Regions from separate parts of the Homo sapiens genome. Here regions 1, 2 and 3 are each linked to region 4. Evidence: promoter capture Hi-C in 16 types of primary human blood cells and fetal thymus (Javierre and others, 2016). All regions are on one chromosome and are shown on one strand. Each heading gives the region's core, a stretch centred on a gene start or on the middle of the fragment in contact. The rest is flanking DNA. Distances are from core to core; before and after follow the strand shown. Region 1 overlaps CFAP57 (cilia and flagella associated protein 57). Region 2 holds the start of LOC124904165 (a long non-coding RNA gene). Region 3 overlaps CFAP57 (cilia and flagella associated protein 57). Region 4 holds the start of SZT2-AS1 (SZT2 antisense RNA 1).

Region 1 (5,264 bases), core at 1,667-4,166, 210 kb before region 4:
ATGAGCACCTCTAACATGCAAGGCAGGGTCCAAGGTCCATAACCCAATAAATATGTATTGAATTGATCATGTCATGATATAAAGTCTGCAAGGAGAAGGTCCATGGGAGGATCTAGCAGAGTTTTACCAGGCAGCATCTGGAAAGGAAATGCGGGAAACCTATCACTGTTATGAGACAATTTGGAACTGTAATGTTCCCCACCCTCCCTCCCAAACTGGGGAGACCGAAGAATGACAAGTCCAGCTTGGTGAGTAGATGAGTTTATTTAGGTCTTCCATGTGGGGCACTCCTGGGCAGCAGCAGGACAGCTCTAGAGACCTGCTTTGCCTCACATCGCTAAGCTGCTTTTAAGCTAATTTTCTGGCTCTTCACCTACTGTGTATGTGCCATGGGACTGTTTTCCTTAGTAGGTTTTCAGATATCTTCTAGGATGTTTGGATTCTCAGGGACACCTGCTCCACAGCTGGGCACCATGGCCTTGACTAACTGCCTGGCCTTGAGGGTTCAGACAGTGAACATACACCCTTAAGTAACCTGGTGGGGGACCCATCACACTACAATCAGCAAGGCCTGGGTTGGTTCAAAGGGTAAAGCATTCGATGGAGAAAACATCTGATTCAGAAACACAAGTACAAATCCTAGCATGAAGAATGAGGGGTTGACAATGAGGACTGGGCATTTCATCCGAGACAGAGAGATTTCATTACTATAAAGGAATACCTGAGGCTGGGTAATTTATAAAGAAGAGAGGTTTATTTGGCTCACAGTTCTGAGGGCTGTACAGGAAGCATGGCACCAGCATTGCTTCTGGTCAAGACCTCAGGAAGCTTTCACTCATGATGGAAGGCAAAAGAGGAGCAGGCGTGTCACATGGCGAAAGAGAGAGTAGGAGAGGAGAAGGGGCCGGTCTCGCTCTGTCGCCCAGGCTGGAGTGCAGTGGCACGATCTCGGCTCACTGCAAGCTCCGCCTCCTGGGTTCATGCCATTCTCCTGCCTCAGCCTCCCAAGTAGCTGGGAGTACAGGCACCCGCCACCACGCCCGGCTAACTGTTTGTATTTTTAGCGTAGACGGGGTTTCACCATGTTAGCCAGGATGGTCTTGATCTCCTGACCTCATGATCCACCTGCCTCGGCCTCCCAAAGTGCTGGGATTACAGGTGTGAGCCACCGTGCCCAGCCGAGGCCAGGTTCTTTTAAAACAACTAGTTCTTGCAGGAACGAATAGAACAAGCACTCATTACTGCGAGGATGGCACCAAGCCCTTCATGAGGAATCTGCTCCCATGACCCAAATACCTCCCTCTAGGCCCCACCTCCAACACTGGGGATCAGTTTTCAACAGGAGATTTCGAGGAGACAAACATCCAAACTATATTGTAAGGAATACTGAAATTAAGTAATATACTGGAAGTCTAAAGGTGTAGATCTGTGCTTTAGATGAAGCATTTCTGGAGGAAAAGAATCATTGCGGTGTCTCTAGCCCGACCCCTGCTCCCTTCTGGGTTCCACAGGTACCTCCCCACAGCAGAGGACCGTTTGTCACAGCTCAGGGAGAACAGTGCTTAAGACCATCCTGTTCTCTGGGCTCTGACTCCGTAGCCACCACTCGTGAGATAATGTCCCAAGTAGAAGCACAGTTTGTTCCTGGCACAGGTCCATTTTATGTAGATTTGGCCTGCAACTGCCTTTTCTGGTATACAGACCCTCAGGTGCTTTGCAACTGAAAGTGTGGTCTGGCCTGCAGACCAGCAGCAGCATCTCTTGGAAGCCCAGTGCAGGATTTCAGGGCCCATTCCAGACCTATGAGTCAGAGGGGCATCTAACAAGGTGGTCAGGTGATGTATTTGTATGGTCATACACGAGGAACTGCTGTAGACAAGCTGACTACTGTGGCTGTGGGCTCTAAGAGCAAAGTGGCCAGTCTCTTTGGGCCCTTGGGGATGGGGCTCCTCCTTGGGGTACTTGTGCTGGGTGTGAAATGGAAGGCAGAGATTTGAGGTGTGGGAAAAGAGGAAAGAGACTGTTTGGTCCCAGGGTGCAGAGCCTGCACCACCTGGCCCCCAGCAAGCTTCGTCCTCACTCCTGTCGACTCCCCTCCTTTCACTCTGCATTCCAGTGATGCAGGACTGTTGCAGGTCTCCCCCACCCCCATCAGCTGTGTCACATTCTGTGCCTTTGCTTCTGCTGTTCTAGTTGTCTGGGACACCCTTTACCCTCTCCTTGGTGACTCCTTCAAGCCTCAGCCCAGGGGTCAATTCCTAGGAATCCACCCTAGTCATTCAGGCAGAAGGAAGCATCTTTCCTCTAGGCCCACTCCTCCATCACAGCAAGGTGGCCACCATGTTAAACTGTACCCACACCCCGCACTAAACTGTAAACTCCTCAAGAGCAGAAGCTAAGATTTACACTCTCTATACTCTAGGATTAACATAGTATCTCCATAATATTGGATGACTACATTATAGGTACTCAATAAACATTTATTAGATGAATGGTTGGTTGGATGGATGGATGGATGGATGGATGGATATTTGTCAAACACAAATAAGAGAAGTGAGCTTCCAATGGATGCAGCAGATGTTAATTATCCATTTACTTTTCTGTTTTACTCACTAAATAGCATGCTGCTAAGGGCAGACCATATCCTATTTCTGTTTGCACTTTATGGACTTACCAGATAGCCTATAAATGTGGGTTCAGCAAATGAATGAAAAATGAATGAAGTATAGCACAGTGCTTACGAACTCTGGAGCCAGACTGTTGGGGTTGGAATCCTGACTCTACCACTTGCTAGCTGTGTAACTGAGCAAGTCATATACCTCTCTGTGCCTCACTTTTCTCTTCTGTAAAATTGTGATTATAATAACAATTTATAATTGTTTTTGTGATTATAATAGCCATATAATTATATATATATAATATAATAGCCATATAATAGCCAATAATTGTGATATAATAATAGCCATAGGGTTATTATGATGCATTTAAACTCATATAAAAAGTGCATGGAAAAGCATTGTTGTTGCTGTTGACGTTGCAACAAGCATGGGTGGATGTGAATGGTGCTGAGTCTACCCGAAAGTAAGTTAGCTGGTTCCTTAAGAGGCTGAGCAATAGGCTGGAATAAAGGCTCAGGCCCCAATAGAGGATCCAGAGTTCTGGATCCAGACCTAACCCTGCCCATTCCCCATACACTCAGCCCAGGAGGGTATGCCTTGTGCCCACTGACCACTCATCCATCCACCCTCCCTCTCTCTTCCCCCTTTTCTGCAGGAAAATGTCTCTCTGATCAAGGAAATTAATGAGCTCCGCAGGGAGCTGAAGTTCACTCGGTCCCAAGTCTATGACCTTGAAGCAGCTCTGAAACTGACCAAGAAAGTCCGACCACAAGAAGTTTCAGAGACAGGTAATATCACCAGTGGCCAGGGGAGATGGGCACTGGGACGAAGGGATTGATGGCAGCTGCAGGCAGGTCTCCCTTTGGCTTCCTTCTGTATCAGGTCCCATCTACACATGGCCTTCTGGGATCCTGTCCGGGGCACACACCTGCTCTTTGAGGAATCCATGAGGGCCTTCCCACACTCCGACACACACAGGTCCACAGTCCCCTGGCTGACATCCTTGAGGTTAGCTACCGTTCAGAATGCAGACTCTTTTAGATTTTAGAAAGCGAATACTTTATATAACATTCCCAGAGGGGTCTGGGGCAGTGCCCTAAAATCAAACACTTTAGTATTTCTGTAGTGACATATGAATATTCACACTAAGCTTCCTGAATTTAAAAAAGCACTCTGTTTTTAGATCTTCTTGCATTTTAGAATAGTGAATAAGGGATTGTGAACCTGTACAATTAAAATGAAGACAAAAAGCAAGATGAGGAGCTATTTAAAGGAAGAGGGGAAATAATTACATAAATATTAAATGAGTCAGTTACTGCAATTATATCCTAAAGTTCCTCTGAATTTCTGACGGCCAAGGCAAAAAGAGAAACAAAGAAATATGATCGTTTATATCATGCTCATTGTATGGCAAAAGGGAGCTTTTTTTCTGGAGAAACAAACGTTTCCCTGGCAATAAATTCTCTGAGAAACTTACCACATGGATCCTTACAAAAGGAATGTGGAGTAACAATGAACAGCCTTTAATTACATATGCCGCTTTCAGGCCCCAAAGAAGCATTTTTCAAGTATCCACTCCTTATCTGGACAATCGATAAAAACCAAGAGATTAAGGCATCTCTATGGCAAATTAAGCCAACATGGTTCAAGTTTTTGTTTTCTGGTGGTTTACATTAAGGAATAAAGATTAGAGGCTTGAACTGAAACATCCCATAGCTATGGATTGGGTCTCTGAAGTGTCAGTTGTCTCTTGTCCCATGGTCACATAAGCTTATGATGGGGAAAAGTGGCTGAAAGGTACACAGGAACCTTGTACTATTTTTGCAACTTATTGTTAGTCTTCAACTATATAACTATATACATTTAATTACAAAATTAAATACATATATAAGATTTTATGTATATGTATATAATTTTGTTGTCTTGTGCACTTTTGGCTAGGGTTGAAGTTGAAACAAGAGTAAACCCTGAGTAGTACCTGAAGTGGCAATACCAGGCCTACAGGGTTGATGTGAGAGCATAGCGTGTGTCATAAAGACTGAGATACTTGGGGCCAGGTGCGGTGGCTCACATCTGTAATCCCAGCACTTTGGGAGGCCGAGGCAGGCAGATCACAAGGTCAAGAGATCGAGACCATCCTGGCCAACACTGTGAAACCCCGTCTCTACTAAAAATACAAAAATTAGCTGGGCGTGGTGGCGCGGGCCTGTAGTCCCAGCTACTCGGGAGGCTGAGGCAGGAGAATCACTTGAACCTGGGAGGCAGAGGTTGCAGTGAGCTCAGATTGCACTACCGCACTCCAGCCTGGACAACAGAGTGAGACTCCATCTCAAAAAACAAAAAACAAAAAAACAAAAAAACCTGACATGCTTGACTTCTCAGAGGTGAAACCATCTTCTCTTGAAAATAAAGCACAGATGTGAACAATTGCAAAACTTCTCTTAAAAAATGTTTCAGGCCAGGCGCCGTGGCTCACATCTGTAATCCCAGCACTTTGGGAGGCCAAGGCGAGCGGAACGCTTGTGCCCAGGGTTCAAGACTAGCCTGGGCAACATGGCGAAACCACATCTCTACAAAAAATACAAAAATCAGCCGGGCATGATGGCATATGCCTGTAGTCCCAGCTATTCGGGAGGTTGAGGTGTG
Region 2 (5,779 bases), core at 895-3,394, 220 kb after region 4:
GTGGAATATTGGCCGGCTGAGAACAATCCTGGACTTGGTGGAAAAGGAGAGTGGGATCACCATTGAGGGTGTGAACACCCCATACCTGTACTTTGGCATGTGGAAGACATCCTTTGCTTGGCACACTGAAGACATGGACCTCTACAGCATCAACTACCTGCACTTTGGAGAACCAAAGTCCTGGTACAGTCTGCCTGCAGTCGGCACCGGGCTTCTATGCTAGAGCACGGGCTCATGTTCATTGTGCGTGGGAAGCACCTCAGGATTGTGTTAAAGGGCAGACCCTGGTTCAGGCTTGGGGTGACATTCCATGTTTTAAACACACTTTCAAGTGCTAAGATGCTTGCTGTTGGAGCTCTGGTGCTCGGACCACCTTTTGAGTAGGGAGGCTTTAGAGAGCAGGGTGCTGGCAGTTACCCAAAGACACGGGGGCTCTTCCAGGCTATCCCACTGCTTTCTAATTTTTTTTCTGAACAGGCCTGAGGCATTTCTTAGCAGCAGACTTCCAAGACTAGAGTCACTCTCTCAGATGACAGAAAGCTTTCTTTTCGTCATGGAAAAAATACTAATACTTGGGGAGCAGCAGTGTGTGCTTAACACATAAGGGATTGCGAGGCTATTCAGCATGCTTCCTGTTCTCCAGAGTGTTATTCTTGTTGGTGAGACAAACATTGGTTCTCTCTCCTCTCTCTGTGCTGACCCATCTTTGAGTCTCAGCATTTTTTTTTTTCTATTTTGAGACAGGGTCTCACTCTGTCACCCAGGCTGGAGTGCAGTGGCACCATTATGGCTCACTGCAGCCTTGACCTCCTGGGCTCAAGTGATCCTTCTACTTCAGCCTCCCAGGTAGCTGGGTTTACAGGCGTGCACCACTATGCCCAGCTAATTTTTTTCCTTCTTTTTTTTTAGGGTAGAGATGGGGTCTCACTATGTTGCACAGGCTGGTCTCAAACTCCTGGGCTCAAGCAGTCCTCCTACTTCAGCCTTGCAAAGTGCTAGGATTACAGGCATGAGCCACTGTACCCGGCCCATCTCAGCATTTTAGTGAAGGTGCTGCAGATAACAGCAGTGAATAAGATGGATGAGATACCTACCCTCACACAGATAGGAGACTGGTCAGGAGGTAGAAAGTGTGAGAGAATGCTCATACGGTGTGGGGACAGCTCTGAAGGGGAAGAAGTGGGTGCTAAGGTCCACATAAGAAGGATAGATGGGATTAAAGAAGGCTTCTTTCAAAGAGGTGACAAGTGAGACCTAAAACATGAGAAGGACATAACCGGGTGGAGTGGTGGTGGGCTTAGCAGCTGGGAGATTGAGGGAAGTGTATCCAGGCAGTTGGAACCACAGACGCAGAGCTCCTGGATTAAGACAGCACATGAGGGCCAGGCGTGGTGGCTCACACCTGTAATCCCAGCACTTTGGGAAGCCGAGGTGGGTGGATCACCTGAAGTCAGGAGTTGGAGACCAGCCTGGCCAACATGGTGAAACCCGTCTCTACTAAAAACACAAAATTAGCCAGGCGTGGTGTGTTTAGGGAGCTAGGGGGAGTCTGCTGTAGTTTGGGTGCTGTGTAAAACGATGAGAAGTGAGTGATGAGGCCGGAGGGGACATCATGGGGCACATTATGGGGAGTCATGAAAACCATATCCACTTTCAGGTCTTTTTTCAGCATCTTCAGCCATGTTCTTTCTCAGGGGTTTTCCTTTCTTCTTTCAAGTGCTCTCCAGTTTCTAATCTTGGGGGAAAGAACCTTTTGAGCCTATGATTATCTCCTAACTACTGTCCTGTTTTTCCTTCCTCAGAAGGCTAGACTTGTAGGATGTGTAAATGTAGCTTTTGTGTCTTCACCATTGTTTACTCCAAAATTCACTGCTCCTGGATTTTTGAATTCTCTTATAAAAGAAGGTTTTCCAGTTATTATATACATTCTTAGGTCCTCTGAAGTGGGACCTCCAGAGCCTTCTGTATAGGGTTGCCTGATGGATCCCAGAGTCCTTTAGGTGACATTTTTGTCAACTCTTCTTCTCTGTTTTGTTTTATAATGAAGCTGTTTGCAGTGGGAGGATTTGTTGTTACTGTGGAATAATCTTCAGAAGAGATTAAAAAGGTTAAAACAGAGTTACTGTGAGTTTCAGAATATAAAGTTTAACAATTTTGCAAAAGTTTAATAGTCCTAGGTGTTCTTTTTTACTTTTCATTTTTTAGGAAGAGCAGTTTCTATGGTGTTTAGACACCCTACTGGGTAGAGAGGTAATTGATTGTTGGGTAATCAGTATATGTAGCTGTTGGGGAGATAAAGGGAAAGTGGGTTCATCAGCAGATACGGGGCTAGGTCTCTTAAGTGTCAGATCCATCTTTCACTTTGTTTTCCATCTTCCTCTTGCCTGCCCCCAGTTAGGCCTTTCAAGCATTTAAAAATACTGAGCATTTTTAAATACTGAGGTTATATAGTGACATCCTTCTTTTTTTTTCTTTTAAAAAATGTTATTATATGAACAACATTATAAAGGAGAGTAATATTATGTACCGTAAATCCTGGCTCATGGTGAACACTTAATAAACATCTTATTAAGTGAATGAATATAGAAGAAATAAATTCACTCACCTTCTTTATGGGCTCCTTACTCCTGTGCCCAAACAGTCTAATATTTCATTTTTTCAGATTCCTTTCTACTGCTTGGGAAGTTAAAAAAAAAATCTGCTATTTCAAGGTGTTTTGAGAGTGGGAATAAGTCCCTTAGCTTCTGTACCTGCCCTCCACCCAGCCTCTGATGCTCTCATGTGATTGCAGGTACTCTGTTCCACCTGAGCATGGAAAGCGGTTGGAACGCCTCGCCAAAGGTACTGTGTCTCTTCTGTTTGCTGGATTGGACCCTCCTATGAGCTGTGCTCCTTGCTCTGCACTAAAATGTGCGTTCCCCATGGTCAGATACTTGCAGGTCCTGTTGCAGGCCTGCAGACGGGGGTGAGCCACACTGGTTACCTTAAGAGGGCAGTGACGGAGCCTTTTCTTCCTTTGTCCTGACTGTCTGTGCCTCAGTTTTAATGAGCAGGGGTGTTTCTTTGACCAGCGATAATGAACCAGACCCAGTATGACTGGTGTTTCCACTAAAGACCCAAATGTTAAAGAAAAAATTGAACTTTATGCTTTGTTTCTTTTAAGTGGACTTAGATTTGTATGTCTGGAGAACATAGGAAAGCCTGGGTAGATGATACTACAGCTGCATTACTGAAAAAAGATCAGGGATACAAGTGACTGGAGAAAAGGTCCTAAATAGTTTCAAAGCTCTATAAGAACAGAGGCAGCTTGGGTGACCTTGGTTTCCCAAACAGGATTTCATTACCCACGTAATGCCCTACATGGGAGTGAGCCTAGAGGCTCATTGCAGAATCTTAGAATTGGTGCGGAGCTATAAGGATCCTCAGAGGTCACATTGGTGATGCATCCTCTTTATCATTCCGATGAGAAGCACAGGTGTGAAGTGACTCCAGGATTGCGGAGCTAGTGTGGAGCACTGTGTTAACCTGTACCCTTTCAATTAAATAGGCTTTTTCCCAGGAAGTGCTCAAAGCTGTGAGGCATTTCTCCGCCACAAGATGACCCTGATTTCCCCGTTAATGCTGAAGAAATATGGAATTCCCTTTGACAAGGTGAGCTGATGTTACATGCCAAAGTTCTCAGGCACCACCCTTTCTGGCCTTTGTTTTACAGTTTTATTCTAGTTCATCACTATACCAAGAGGGGGCCAAAGCTTAAATAAACTATGTAACAACACTTTGATCTAAGAGCATTAAAGGTGGGGCCACTGTAGCTTCCTGGTGCCAGAGGAGAGTCAGATCCCCTAGAACAGTGTTCATTTGGAGGAATGGTTAATTATAGTCATGTCATCTGATATGTCTGGGCTTTGCATTTTATAGAAGACAGCAAGGACCCCAGGGGTTTTATGACTTACCCTTTGTTACTCAGCTAAGTTGTGGTGGAGCTCAGAATTCCAGTTCTGTGGACTTCTGCCATTTGAAGCAGCTGCTTCAAGTCTGCTCTTGTTCAGGTGACTCAAGAGGCTGGAGAGTTTATGATCACTTTCCCTTATGGTTACCATGCCGGCTTTAACCATGGTTTTAACTGTGCGGAGTCTACCAATTTTGCTACCCGTCGGTGGATTGAGTACGGCAAGCAAGCTGTGCTGGTAAGTCTGCTTGATTTCTTTCTATAACACCATGACAAAAATGAGCAAATTCTGGTTAGATACGTTGGCTGGTGATTAGAGTATTTCTTTGAGCTGCTGGAATTCAGAAACAAGCAGCTAGCAATGTGTCAGAGTACTAACATTTTGTGTTCATAAGGAATTTTTAAAAATGTGTTCAGAATTGGGAAGTATAAAATGAGGTTCTTAAGTCCATTAGGCATTAAAACCACATCCACACACGTTAATACTCTTGTTTATCCATTCCGAGATTTCTCTGTTGAAATTTTTAGGGGTTTCCTTTACTCTAGGGAAGCAGCAGGGTCGGGCCTTTGACTGATAGTAGTAGACTTGCTTGTGTGTTCCTGGCTTGGACAGGGAACAAGGGCAGGTGGCTCACCGTCCTGGGGGCCTAAGTGCAGAGCCTAACCACCCTCTGTGACCCCGAGTTAGTGCCCAGGTAGATTTGCCCCAGTAGCATGTGCTCTCTGCCTTTTTTTCCCTGCTTCCCTTCATGTTTGAAGGTCCTGCAAGGATAACATGCCCTCAGCCTGTGAACCAAAACAATCTGGTTATAAACCATCTTGCACTTGTTTCCATGTGGAGGGAGGAGCTAGGACGTGGGGGTGAGTTGGAAGCAGCAAGGTATGCTCACCTGGTGCTCTTCTGGTTCCTGCTGACAGTGCTCCTGTAGAAAGGACATGGTGAAGATCTCCATGGATGTGTTTGTGAGAAAGTTCCAGCCAGAAAGGTACAAACTTTGGAAAGCTGGGAAGGACAACACAGTTATTGACCATACTCTGCCCACGCCAGAAGCAGCTGAGTTTCTTAAGGAGAGTGAACTGCCTCCAAGAGCTGGCAACGAGGAGGAGTGCCCAGAGGAGGACATGGAAGGGGTGGAGGATGGAGAGGAAGGAGACCTGAAGACAAGGTAACCCAGCAGCCCTTTTGTCCTGGCTGCGTGAGGGAGGGATGTCTGGGTAGGTCCTGTAATCTGTGGAGAGGCTGTTTCTTGTTTTTTTTGTTTTGTTTTGTTTTTGTTTTTGTTTTTGTTTTTGATGGAGTCTCGCTCTGTCGCCCAGGCTGGAGTGCAGTGGTGCGATCTCGGCTCACTGCAAGCCCCGCCTCCCGGGTTCAGGCCATTCTTCTGCCTCAGCCTCCCGAGTAGCTGGGACTACAGGCACCTACAGCCACGCCTGGCTAATTTTTTGTATTTTTAGTAGAGACAGGGTTTCACTGTGTTAGCCAGGACGGTCTCGATCTCCTGACCTCGTGATCCGCCCACCTCGGCCTCCCAAAGTGCTGGGATTACAGGTGTGAGCCACCGCGCCCGGCCGAGGCTGTTTCTAAGATGCCGTTTGTGCCTTGGCTAAGGGAGTGTTCTTGGTAAAGGCTCCAGAAACCTGAGAGCCAGAGCATTCAGGCACTTTCTGAATGAGAGACCTGTAGTGGGCGTGTAGTCTGCTGGAGCAAGGCGTCAGTTATATGAGGGTCGGGGGCATTTATGTGCGAAGGTCGGGCTCCCTCTGAGCCAGAAAAGTCATGTTTTCTCATCATATCAGAGAGTCTTTTAAAAAGAAGTGTAGTGAGGATGA
Region 3 (5,316 bases), core at 2,243-4,742, 230 kb before region 4:
AACCGTTCCATCCCCACAAAGATCTCCATCTGCCCTTCAGAGTCCTACCACTCCTCCCGACTATCATCCCGAATCCCTGCCTACCACTAATTTGTTCTTATTTCCATAACTTTTGTCATTTTGAGAACTGTATATGGAATTATACTGTATGTGGCCTTCTGAAAATGGCTTTTTTATTGATACGTAGTATTTGTACATATTATGAAGTACCTGTGATGTTTTGTTACAGTCATAGAGCATGTAATGATCAGGTCAGGATATTTAGGGTTTCCATCCATCTCGCGTATTTATGATTTCTGTGTGTTGGGAGCATTTCAAGTCCTGTCTTCTAGCAATTTAAAAATATACAATATATTGTTGTTAACTATAGTCACCTTACTCTGCTATCAAACATTAGAACTTATTTCTTCTTTGACCTGGCACGTGGGTCATGCCTGTGATCCCAACACTTTGGGAGGCTGAGGCAGCCAGATCACTTGAGGTCAGGAGTTTGAGACCAGCCTGGCCAACATGATGAAACCCCCGTCTCTACTAAAAATACAAAAATTAGCCAGGCATGGTGGTGCACGCCTGTAATCCCAGCTACTCGAGAGGCTGAGGCAGGAGAATTGCTTGAACCTGAGAAGCAGAGATTTCAGTGAGCTGGGAGATCGTGCCACTGCACTCTTAGCCTGGGCAACATAGCAGACTCTATCTCAAAAAAAAAAAAAAAGAAAGAAAGAAAGAAAAGAAAACTGATTTCTTCTATCTAATGTTTGTATCTGTTAGCCAATCTCTCTTTAGCACCCCACCAACCCATACACTCTTCCCTAGTATCTATCATGCCACTCTCTACTTCCATGAGGTCAACTTTTTTTTCTTTTTTTTGAGATAGAGTCTCACTCTGTCGCCCAGGCTTGAGTGCAATGGCATGATCTCCGCTCACTGCAACCACCGCCTCCTGGGTTCAAGCGATTCTTCCACCTCAGCCTCCCAAGTAGCTGGGATTACAGGCACATGCCATCATGCCCGACTAGGGTCAACATTTTTTAGCTCTCACATATGAATGAGAACACACAATATTTGTTTTTCTGTACCTGACATATTTCACTTAACTTCACGACCTCCAGTTCCATCCATGTTGCTGCAAAAACATGATTTCATTCATTTTTTACGGCCAAATAGTATTCCAGTGGGTATATATACCACATTTTCTTTATTCATTCATCCACTGATGGACACTTAGGTTGATTCCATATCTTTACTATTGGTGGTACAATAAATATGGGGGGGGCGGTGGAGCGCAGGTATCCTTTCAATCTGCTGATTTCCTTTCCTTTAGAAAAGTATCCAGTAATGAGATTGCAGGATTGTATGGTAGTTCTATTTTTAGTTTTTTTGAGAAGTCTACATACTGTTTTCCATAGTGGTTGTACTAATTTACCTTCCCACCAACAGTGTATAAGAGTTCTCTCTTCTCCACATTCTTGCCAGAATCTGTTATTTGTTGTCTTTTTGATAATACCTACTCTAATTGGGGTAAGATGGTATCTCATGGTGGTTTTGATTTGCATTTCCCTGATGATTAGTGATGTTGAGCATTTTTTCATATACCTGTTGGCCATTTGTATGTCTTCTTTTGAGAAATGTCTATTCATGTCCTTAGCCCACTTTTTTTTTTTTTTTGAGATAGAGTTTTGCTCTTGTCACCCAGGATGGAGTGCAATGGTTCAATCTCGGCTCACTGCAACCTCCCCCTCCTGGGTTCAAGAGATTCTCCTGCCTCAGCCTCCCGAGTAGCTGGGATTACCGTGCCTGCCACCACGCCCAGCTAATTTTTGTATTTTTAGTACGGATGAGGTTTCACCATGTTGTCCAGGCCGGTCTCAAACTCCTGACCTCAGGTGATCCACCCTCCTCAGCCTCCCAATGTGCTGGGATTACAGGTGTAAGCCACCACGCCCGCCCCTTAGCCCACTTTTTAATGAGATTTTTAGATTTTTTTGTTTGTTTAATGTTGAATTGTTTGAGTTCTTTGGTATTCTGGATATTGGTCTTTTGTCAGAGCAATAGTTTGCAAATATTTTCTCCCATTCGACAGGTCGTCTCTTCAGTCTGTTGATTGTTTCCTTTGCTGTGCAGAAGCTTTTTAGCTTAATGTCCTGATTGTGGCTTTTTCCACTCAGCTAAATCTTCAAATCCATCCAAGTTGTGTTGTGTATCAATCATAGTTTATTCCCTTTTATTTCTGAGTAGTATTCCATGAAAAACAAATCACAGTTTGTATAGCCATTCACCTATTGTAGGATATTTTTAATTTTTTCCAGTTTTCAGCTATTATAAATAAAGCTGCTGTGACCAATCATATACAGGCTTTTGTGTGGAAATAAGTTTTCATTTCTCTGGGATAAATGCCCAGGAGTATAATTGCTGAATCATATGGTAAGTGTATATTCAGGTTTGTTTTTTTTTAAACTGCCAAGCTATTTTCCAGAGTGGCTGTACCATTTTACATTCTTACCAAGAATGTATGAGACCCAGTTTCTCTGCATCATTGCCAGCACTTGGTGTTGTCACTGTTTTTTATTTTAGCTGTTCTAATGGGTGTGTAGTGATATCTCATCATGGTCCTAATTTTGCATTTTCCTAAATGGCTAATAATGCGGAGTATCTCTTCATGTGCTTACTTGCCATCTGTGTATTTTCCCTGGTGAAATGTCTCCTTATCTTTTGTCTACTTTCTGATTGGATTGTTTGGCTTTTTTACTGTTGAGTTTTGAGAGTTTCTTGTTCGTTCTAGATAATAGCTGACTCTTCAGATTCCAAATCCACAGAGAATGTAGACGTAACCTTACTTCTTCTATTCATTAACAGATGCCTGTGAGGGCTCCTCTCTCATTCTTACCTGGGATCAAGTTTACCTCCCTGTGAGGCTGTGCCCAGGATTGCATGGGGGGAAGCCTTGCGCAACAGCTGGCTCAGCCCTGGTCATCTGTGGCCTTGAAAGCTTCCTGGCCATGACCCTTTTTCTCTTCAGATGTTGCTTACCTTTGATGATCAGTTCCTGCTGACTGCTGCTGAGGATGGCTGCCTGTTCACCTGGAAGGTCTTTGATAAGGATGGCCGGGGAATCAAGCGAGAGAGGGAGGTGGGCTTTGCCGAAGAGGTGCTTGTGACTAAAACAGACATGGAAGAAAAGGTAAGAACTGGATCTAATGAAGAGGGATATGGAATTACTTACCAGACTGCATTCAGATGCAGGTCCAGCACTGGGGCCCTCTACAGCCTGGCTACACCCTATGCCCAGTGCAGACCCCCACGGCTCCCTGCACATCTGCTGTCCCCACAACCAAGCTCTCCTCCTCATTGCCACTGTCCACCCGACTCTGCCTGTCTTTCTGCCATGTGATCATCTTGACTTACACTGTGCTTTGCTTTTATTCTGTGATCTGGTTTTCTCTTCCTACTCTTTGAAACCAAGAATAATGAAACATACAGTTCTCTTATGACCAACAGTTCCTAGCACATGCTGGGCACATGGAAGACAATCAATAAATATTTACAAAAGTAAAGTATGTTCTCATTTAAATCTCACAACATCTCTATGAAGAAGATACTGTCATTCTCCCCATGTTTCAAAAAACAAGTTAGGAGAGCTTGAGGGATGTGTTCAAAGTCAGTGTGCTAATAATTAATAGGACTAGAGTTCTAATCCAGATTTAATCCAGAGCCCCCTCCCTTAATCACTATACCAAAGGGACATCCCTTCCTTCCTGTTGATGCAGTAAACATTCCATAAAGGTGTGTTTTGCAGAGATATGAGTGCATAGCTCTGTGTTACGCTTCCTAAGGGAGAAGCTGAATGGATGATAAACACACAAGGCTCATGGAGGATCGCAAAGCTACACAGTCATTGCTGTTTGTCCAGAATCTTAAGTGTGTTTATTGAACACCTACCATTTGCTAGGCACTGGGGATGCACATGTGAAAAGACAGTTGTGGGCCCTGTGACATGACCAGGAAGCTTACAGTCAAGTGAGGGATAGAAACAAGTAAAGCCATCAGAGCAGCAATACAACACTGCCACAAAGCACGGTGACAAGCCCCTGGCATTCGCTGGAGATCCCTTCCAGAGCTCCCTAGAATTTTCTGCAGGAAAAGCAAAGAGGGAGAAGAGGATGAGGGAGGGGCCCGTGAGAGTGGGGGCCTGACCTGCTGCAGAAGGGACATTTCCTTTTCTCTGTTATCTTTTCTGTTCTTCCCAGAGGGTAGGGGAAGAGGCCAAATAGGAGACAGCAGGCTGAACCAAAGGCCTGAAGGTGCCCAAGCTGGCTTCTGACCACAGCCCCCAGATGGGCCTGACAGTACCGCTGCCAGGCTGGAAATGACTTGTGCATATACCGCTCCTTCTTGAAACTCCCTTCTGTCTTACCATCCTTGTGACCACACTCTGTTCCCTGAAAACCTTTCTGACTCCTCCTCCCCGCTTCTGTCCTGGCTCTTCCTCCGCCTGTCCCTTAAAAAGCATGTTCCCAGAATTCCCAACTCTCTTTATATTCCATTATAGTCTAAGTAACTCTCAGGCCATGATTTACCTTCTCTGCCTAGGATTTACAGAGGGGTCTGCTGTGTACCTGACACTATACTAAGGTCTGGGATTACAGAGATAAAAGACATAAAGCATCCTTTAGCTGATAGCCTGGGAAGAGGGCAGAGTATCACAAAGAAGGGAATTAAACGTGCAGTGGAATGAAGTGTCATGAAAGAACGATGCTGTGGGAGCACAGGGGAAGGAACTTGGCTCAGGCCAGGTGGTGCCAGAGGACATGAGCCTTGCTCAGATCCTTCCAGGACAAATGGACAAGGGCCAGTGAGCAATGAGCAGTGAGTGTGTGCAGAGGGATGAGGGAGTGGTGGTCTGCAAAGCTGCTCCTAGTTAGGTTGTGCCAGAGAGAAGGGCTGAAGATGAAGCTGGAGAGAAACAGGTCAGGGGGGCCTTTTACACCCTGCATTAGGCTGGACATTGTTCATAAGGACCATTCATAAATTTAAGCTGGGGAATGACTTAACATGATTCGCATCTCGGAGAGAATAATCTGCAGCAATGTGAAGAATAGATGGAGGAAGGACACTGAACAAGGACCTCAAACACAGCATGTCAAAGGCCGGGTCATTCCCATGGATAAATATATCCCACTAGCCAGGGCAGACCCCTGGGATCATTGATAAGTATTCATTCAGTGCTGACCATGCTGCTAGTTTTATGCTAGGTTCTGGGGATAAAGCAGAGAAGCAAGACAGGCCAAGCCCCACCCTCAGGTACCGGTCCTTCTACCT
Region 4 (5,395 bases), core at 2,749-5,248:
ACCTCCATCTCCCCTGAGCTCAGGGACAACTCTGCAGCCACCTTTTCATCCACTGTCAAATCTCAGATTCCCGTGTTTGTGGCCCCTGCTCTATGTTCCTCTCCAGATTCTGTGTTCTCTGCCCTTTCCCAGTGGCTGTATGCGAAAAATGAGCTGTTCACCTTACACATAGCTACTTTCGTGTCTCCAGATTTGTGAGTTTATCAAGGCATGTTCTCCCTCCTCTCTGTTTTCAGTTAGAACCTTTTCAAGCCAGTAGTCCAGAAATGCCAGTTCCAACTCTCTCATGTTTCTGTGACCAGCTCCCCACTCCCCAGGTTTCCCTCTCTTCCAGGCATTAGGAAGAGAAGGCGTGCCTGCCCCTCCTGTGATCCCATCTCAGAGGCCAGGCTGGCCCCTCCTACCCTGGGGAGGAGCTGCCCAGCTTGCTATCTTGACAGCCAGTTCCCAGCTCTAGGAGCTTCTCTAAAGGACTTTAGTTTGCACACTTGCCATAAGTTATGCTCTTTCCCCCAAATCTGAATTCCTTTAGACACTGGGTTAAAAAAAAAAATGTTTCTACAGCAAAATTTAAAGCCAGGTCTTCCCTTCCCACCAATCTTTAACAATCACCAATCACTAAGTCTTGTCCCAGTTTCCTTGAGGTTTAAATGGGACATTTTTTCCACCAGAGGTTTTGACCCCCAGCAAGAATTCTGGCAGTTTATAGCCCCTTGGCGTGAGTGGGTCCCCCCAACCCCTTCTGTTCTGTCCCTTCTTCCCAGTCCCTCCCCTGCTTCCCTTCTCCCCTATCCTCTGCACTAAACTGTAACGAGCAGTAGGCCTCTGAAAGCCTGGAACTGCCATCCCCCCCAATCAAAAGACAGCAGCTTTGCCCTTTCAGAGGAAGGTACCTAACCAGGCATCAAGCATCTCCTTGAATTTTCCTAATCAAATTGTAGACAGGCATCACCTTCCCCCTTCTCTTTCCTGCCCAGCACACACCCTCTCAGTAGCAGAGGCTTAGTCTCCACCTCCCCACTGAGCACTGTTTTTGCCTCCCTTGAAGCAGCAGCTGCTATGGAGAGAGCCCAGCCTTGCAGTCTAGACCTGGACTCCAAGCCCAGCCTTGCCACTCACAGTGGCAGCTTTGTGGGTCTGTTTCCTCCCTTGCAAAATGATTCCATATAAAACAGATTCTGGGTCTGATCACCATGACTGCATGCCACTAGCCTGCCTCATCCTCTTATCCCTCCTCCTTTTCTATAGCACCAGCCGGCCACGGGCCATGGCTATCCTTGGAACAGAGGGTCGAGGCTCCTTCTCCTGCCCTAAAACCAAGACTGATGGGAGCCCCAAGGTAACTTGTCATATAATGGTAAAGTTACTGATGCTAAATTACTTTCCCACGGCCTGAGGTCATTGACCCTGAGTGATGTACCGAGGTCACTGATCCCAGACTGACACCATTAAAGTCAGGGTCCAAGGGACTTCCACCCTACTGATTCGAGGCTGGTGAGCCCCCAAACCTTGCCCCCTTTTTTGTTTCTTCAGAGCACTAGCTCTCCGGTAACCACCTACCACCTGCAGCGGGCACTGCCTGGGGGCATCATCCTCATGGAACTGGCATTCCAGGTAAGCAGGAGGAGCACTGAGTGGAGACAGCCAGACCCACCTGTCTCTCGCCTTCCTGATCTCATCTTCACCTTCCCTCCAGGGCTGTTACTTCTGTGTCAAACAGTTTGCCCTGGAATGTTCCCGAATCCCAATGGGGCAGGCTGTCAACTCACAGGTATGTGAATGAGCTGCGGGCACAGTCAGTGCACCCCAGTGTGCTGTGGGCAGCATGGCTCCATGTCCCATTTGCTGGGCAGTAGAGTAATGCAGTAGGCGGGCTGGCCCAGTGATTGATTCACTGCTATGGCCTGGCTAGGTCAGTGCTCATTCTGGTGCCATGACTGCACTCACTACAAGGCTGACCCCATCGGTCATCCAAAGCGTGTTCAGCTGTAGCCCTGAGGCAGCACAGTGCCTGGTCTGGCCTGTAGTCATCTAGAGTCTGTGGCAGACCCTGATGGAATCTGGGATAGAGCAAAATGGCCCAGTTTCTGAAAATGGCCCTAGTTTCATGGAGATAGTTACAATACAGTATGAAAAAGGGAGGCTAGAATGGGGAGGCCTTCCCACAGAAACCATTCTGGCAGAGGGCGTTCCACTAGGCCACAGCAGCAGGGGAAATCTTGTGCTTCTTCCCACGGAAGGAGGGAAATGTGTTTTGGGCAGCCAGTGCAGCCATACCTTAACCCTGTCTCCTGCTGCTGCCTCCCCAGCTGTCCATGCTGTTCACAGAGGAGTGTGACAAGGTGCGGGACCTGATGCACGTGCACTCGTTCAGCTATGACTTCCATCTGCGCCTCGTGCATCAGCACGTGCTAGGTGCCCATCTGGTGCTGCGGCACGGCTACCACCTCACCACCTTTCTGCGACACTTCCTGGCCCACCACCCTGACGGACCCCACTTTGGCCGCAATCACATTTACCAAGGTCAGTGCCCAAGGGCAAGCCAGTGAACCCAAAAAAGAACAGGCCACAGGTGCCTCCAGGTCAGGGCTGGTGGGACCACCTCCCTGGACAAGTGGTCCCATGTTGTTAATCATCTCATGTCACACATACCACGTCCCCATGTTTCTGTCCTGTGTCTGTTTCTTACCAGAGTTTGGACCCCATGTCACATGTCCCCTGCCCTCTGAGTCACTTCTGTCCCATCTCAGTGTTCCACAGGAATGCAGGAGCTCCTAAGGAAAGCAGACCCACTCTGCCTGCCAGTCAGAGCCTTAAAGACTCCCATCCCTGTGCCCCACCAGACCAGTGTGTCTGTCCTAGGCTTAGTGTCTGCTGTCTCCTGTTACTTATCCCTCAGGGACATTGGAGCTCCCCACACCACTCATTGCTGCCCACCAGCTATACAACTACGTGGCTGATCACGCCAGCTCTTACCACATGAAGCCATTGCGAATGGCCCGGCCAGGGGGCCCAGAACACAACGAGTATGCCCTGGTGTCGGCATGGCACAGGTAAGGCTGAGAGGGGCATCCAGCATGCACGCTGCAGGAGCTGGGGTTGGGACATACTTGCAGTAGGGAGACCAATGTTTTCTTGGGCAGGGGTGAGGTTTGTTTTATTAGAACCCCAGAGTTGACATCTCCCCAACCCGTCCTGCACAGTTCTGGCTCCTACCTGGACTCTGAGGGACTTCGACACCAGGATGACTTTGATGTGTCTCTGCTTGTCTGTCACTGTGCTGCACCCTTTGAGGAGCAAGGAGAGGCTGAGCGGCACGTTCTGCGGTCAGCAGATCCCCTACCTTGAACATGCCCATTTCCCAGCCTGCCCCACCCTGCCCTGTGTGTCTCTTGCTACAACCACCACTCTCCTGCCCTGCTCCCCACCCCAGGCTACAGTTCTTCGTGGTGCTCACCAGCCAGCGAGAGCTCTTCCCCAGGCTCACTGCTGACATGCGCCGCTTCCGGAAGCCACCCAGACTGCCCCCTGAGCCAGAGGCTCCTGGGAGTTCAGCTGGCAGCCCTGGGGAGGCCTCAGGGCTTATTCTAGCGCCTGGACCGGCTCCTCTGTTCCCACCACTGGCTGCAGAGGTGGGCATGGCACGAGCACGGCTGGCTCAGCTGGTGCGGCTGGCTGGAGGGCACTGCCGTCGGGACACCCTTTGGAAGCGCCTCTTCTTGCTGGAGCCACCGGGGCCTGATCGACTGCGGCTAGGGGGGCGCCTGGCCCTGGCAGAGCTGGAGGAACTCCTAGAAGCAGTCCATGCCAAATCCATTGGGGACATCGACCCCCAGCTGGTAAGGAACTGTGGGCTCCCGAAAGAGCTGGGATAGGTGCCAGGAATTCCACTGGCAGCCAGGGCAGAGGGCACAGGAATCTGAGGTGACTGGCACAGAAGACTCAGGCCTGTGGCTCCTCCCTCAGGACTGCTTCCTATCCATGACGGTCTCCTGGTACCAGAGCCTGATCAAAGTTCTCCTAAGCCGCTTCCCCCAGAGCTGTCGCCATTTCCAAAGCCCAGACTTGGGAACTCAGTACCTGGTAAGTCCCCTTGAGCTTCCTCTGAAAAGGGAAACACAGCAGAAATCCTCACCAAACAGATGTGCCCCTCAGCCTGACCAAACAAGCTCTGCTCTGGAGGGAGGCCTAGACAGAACGGGACTACACAGATACATGTAAAACCCTTCCAGTACCGGGCATCGAGCTACAGCATGTGATTCTCTGAGCAGCTCTGCCCTCAAAGACTCACCAAGAATACAAGCCTTGGCTTGAGATCCTGAGGGCCAGGCTCTGGAACTGACAACCCAAGGAGCTGTCAGAACTTTGTCAGTAGGCTGGAGCCCCAGAAAGGACCCCTTGGACTTTGAAGCCTTGTTACTTAAAGTGTGGTCCACAGACCAGCAGCCGCAGCACCTGGGAGCTTGCTGAAATGCAGGCTCTCCGGCCACATTTCAGACTGTTGACTCGGGATCTGCAGGTTGACAGTCTCCCCAGGTGATTTGTGTGCACACTGAGGCGTGAAAGCACTGCTGTAAAGGACAGGTAGAGAGAACTGTGGTGGTGGACACGAGCACAGGGCATTAAGGAGCCCACAGAGATGGGCCCAGCCAGAGCTGAGGTTCAAGAGAGGAGGCATTACAAGAGAAGACTTCAAGTGAGAAAGTAGGAGGTGGAGCCAGGTGAGGGGTCCTGCAGCACAGTGCTTGTGCAGAGGATTCATTTCAGGGTGCAGGAAGGGTCTCCCAGAGAAGCCAAGGTCAGTTAGGATGAGGCTGCAGTAGTGTCGGCGGTTGTGAATGGAGGCAGGTGCTCCTGCGGGTGGTGGGAAGGCTGGAGCAGGAGTGGGTTTTGGGGAAGGGTGACAAGCCCAGCTTGGGGCAAGCTGAGTCTGGGGTCCATAGGCCCTTCACTGTCTGCAAGGTCTGTGGGCATCAGGGATTCGAGCTCAGGAGAGTCCTAGGCAGCAGCTCTGTGAACAGGCGGTAACTGAAGCCTTGGGAGAGCAAATCATCCCGGGATGGATCACCAAGCAGAGCGTTAGGGAGCAGATGGACATAAGGGGACGACAAGACAATCCCAGGGGTGGTCAGAGAGGAGTCCCAGGACAGGAGGCAAGGAGGTTGTGCCAGGGGTACAGCACTCTCTGTTGATTGGCTTCAGTGTGCCAGGCTCTGTGTGGGGCCTCCAGGATCAACTGTTACCCCTCATTCTGATGCAGCTCAGACAGGCTGACCAGCAAGCCAGCGAGGATGAGGACTGAGGCTCAATTTGGAGACACGGTCCTATGTGACCTCAGGGTGCAGGCGGGGTGAGGTGTGGAGATGGAAGTAGGCCTCTCCTCATCCTCCCTTCA

What was found. The method cuts DNA at HindIII sites, captures the fragments that hold promoters and counts their contacts. A CHiCAGO score of 5 or more calls a contact.
Region 1: a contact is called between a fragment that was not itself captured here and the fragment with the promoter of SZT2-AS1 in region 4, in 1 of 17 cell types (M1 macrophages). The highest score is 5.1, in M1 macrophages.
Region 2: a contact is called between a fragment that was not itself captured here and the fragment with the promoter of SZT2-AS1 in region 4, in 1 of 17 cell types (M2 macrophages). The highest score is 5.0, in M2 macrophages.
Region 3: a contact is called between a fragment that was not itself captured here and the fragment with the promoter of SZT2-AS1 in region 4, in 1 of 17 cell types (M0 macrophages). The highest score is 6.4, in M0 macrophages.

What each region holds. Positions count from the first base shown.
Region 1 is chr1:43,239,954-43,245,217 of GRCh38, forward strand. CFAP57 (cilia and flagella associated protein 57) reads left to right here. Exons shown (of 23, transcript NM_001378189.1): 22 at 3,274-3,406. The region is part of intron 1 of LOC105378685 (a long non-coding RNA gene); the gene reads right to left. The region is part of intron 1 of LOC124904164 (a long non-coding RNA gene); the gene reads right to left. Among named protein-coding and RNA genes, the nearest start is that of TMEM125, 27 kb to the right of the region's middle. The HindIII fragment of the contact is 1,700 bases long and covers 2,067-3,766 here.
Region 2 is chr1:43,662,905-43,668,683 of GRCh38, forward strand. KDM4A (lysine demethylase 4A) reads left to right here. Exons shown (of 22, transcript NM_014663.3): 5 at 1-183; 6 at 2,792-2,841; 7 at 3,548-3,651; 8 at 4,050-4,187; 9 at 4,868-5,115. It overlaps LOC124904165 (a long non-coding RNA gene), which reads right to left and starts at 4,928. Exons shown (of 3, transcript XR_007066050.1): 1 at 4,840-4,928; 2 at 3,954-4,208; 3 at 726-2,087. RefSeq lists enhancers at 1,337-1,416, 1,707-1,766, 3,408-4,607. The HindIII fragment of the contact is 3,212 bases long and covers 539-3,750 here.
Region 3 is chr1:43,212,239-43,217,554 of GRCh38, forward strand. CFAP57 (cilia and flagella associated protein 57) reads left to right here. Exons shown (of 23, transcript NM_001378189.1): 12 at 3,017-3,178. It overlaps LOC105378685 (a long non-coding RNA gene), which reads right to left. Exons shown (of 5, transcript XR_007066041.1): 2 at 3,028-3,155. Among named protein-coding and RNA genes, the nearest start is that of CFAP57, 43 kb to the left of the region's middle. The HindIII fragment of the contact is 1,017 bases long and covers 2,985-4,001 here.
Region 4 is chr1:43,444,646-43,450,040 of GRCh38, forward strand. SZT2-AS1 (SZT2 antisense RNA 1) reads right to left here and starts at 3,999. Exons shown (of 2, transcript NR_046744.1): 1 at 3,458-3,999; 2 at 3,131-3,287. SZT2 (SZT2 subunit of KICSTOR complex) reads left to right here. Exons shown (of 72, transcript NM_001365999.1): 63 at 1,249-1,339; 64 at 1,534-1,614; 65 at 1,697-1,771; 66 at 2,310-2,523; 67 at 2,900-3,053; 68 at 3,204-3,326; 69 at 3,434-3,839; 70 at 3,967-4,083. MIR6735 (microRNA 6735) reads left to right here and starts at 3,894; the gene lies at 3,894-3,966. The HindIII fragment of the contact is 12,682 bases long and covers 1-5,395 here.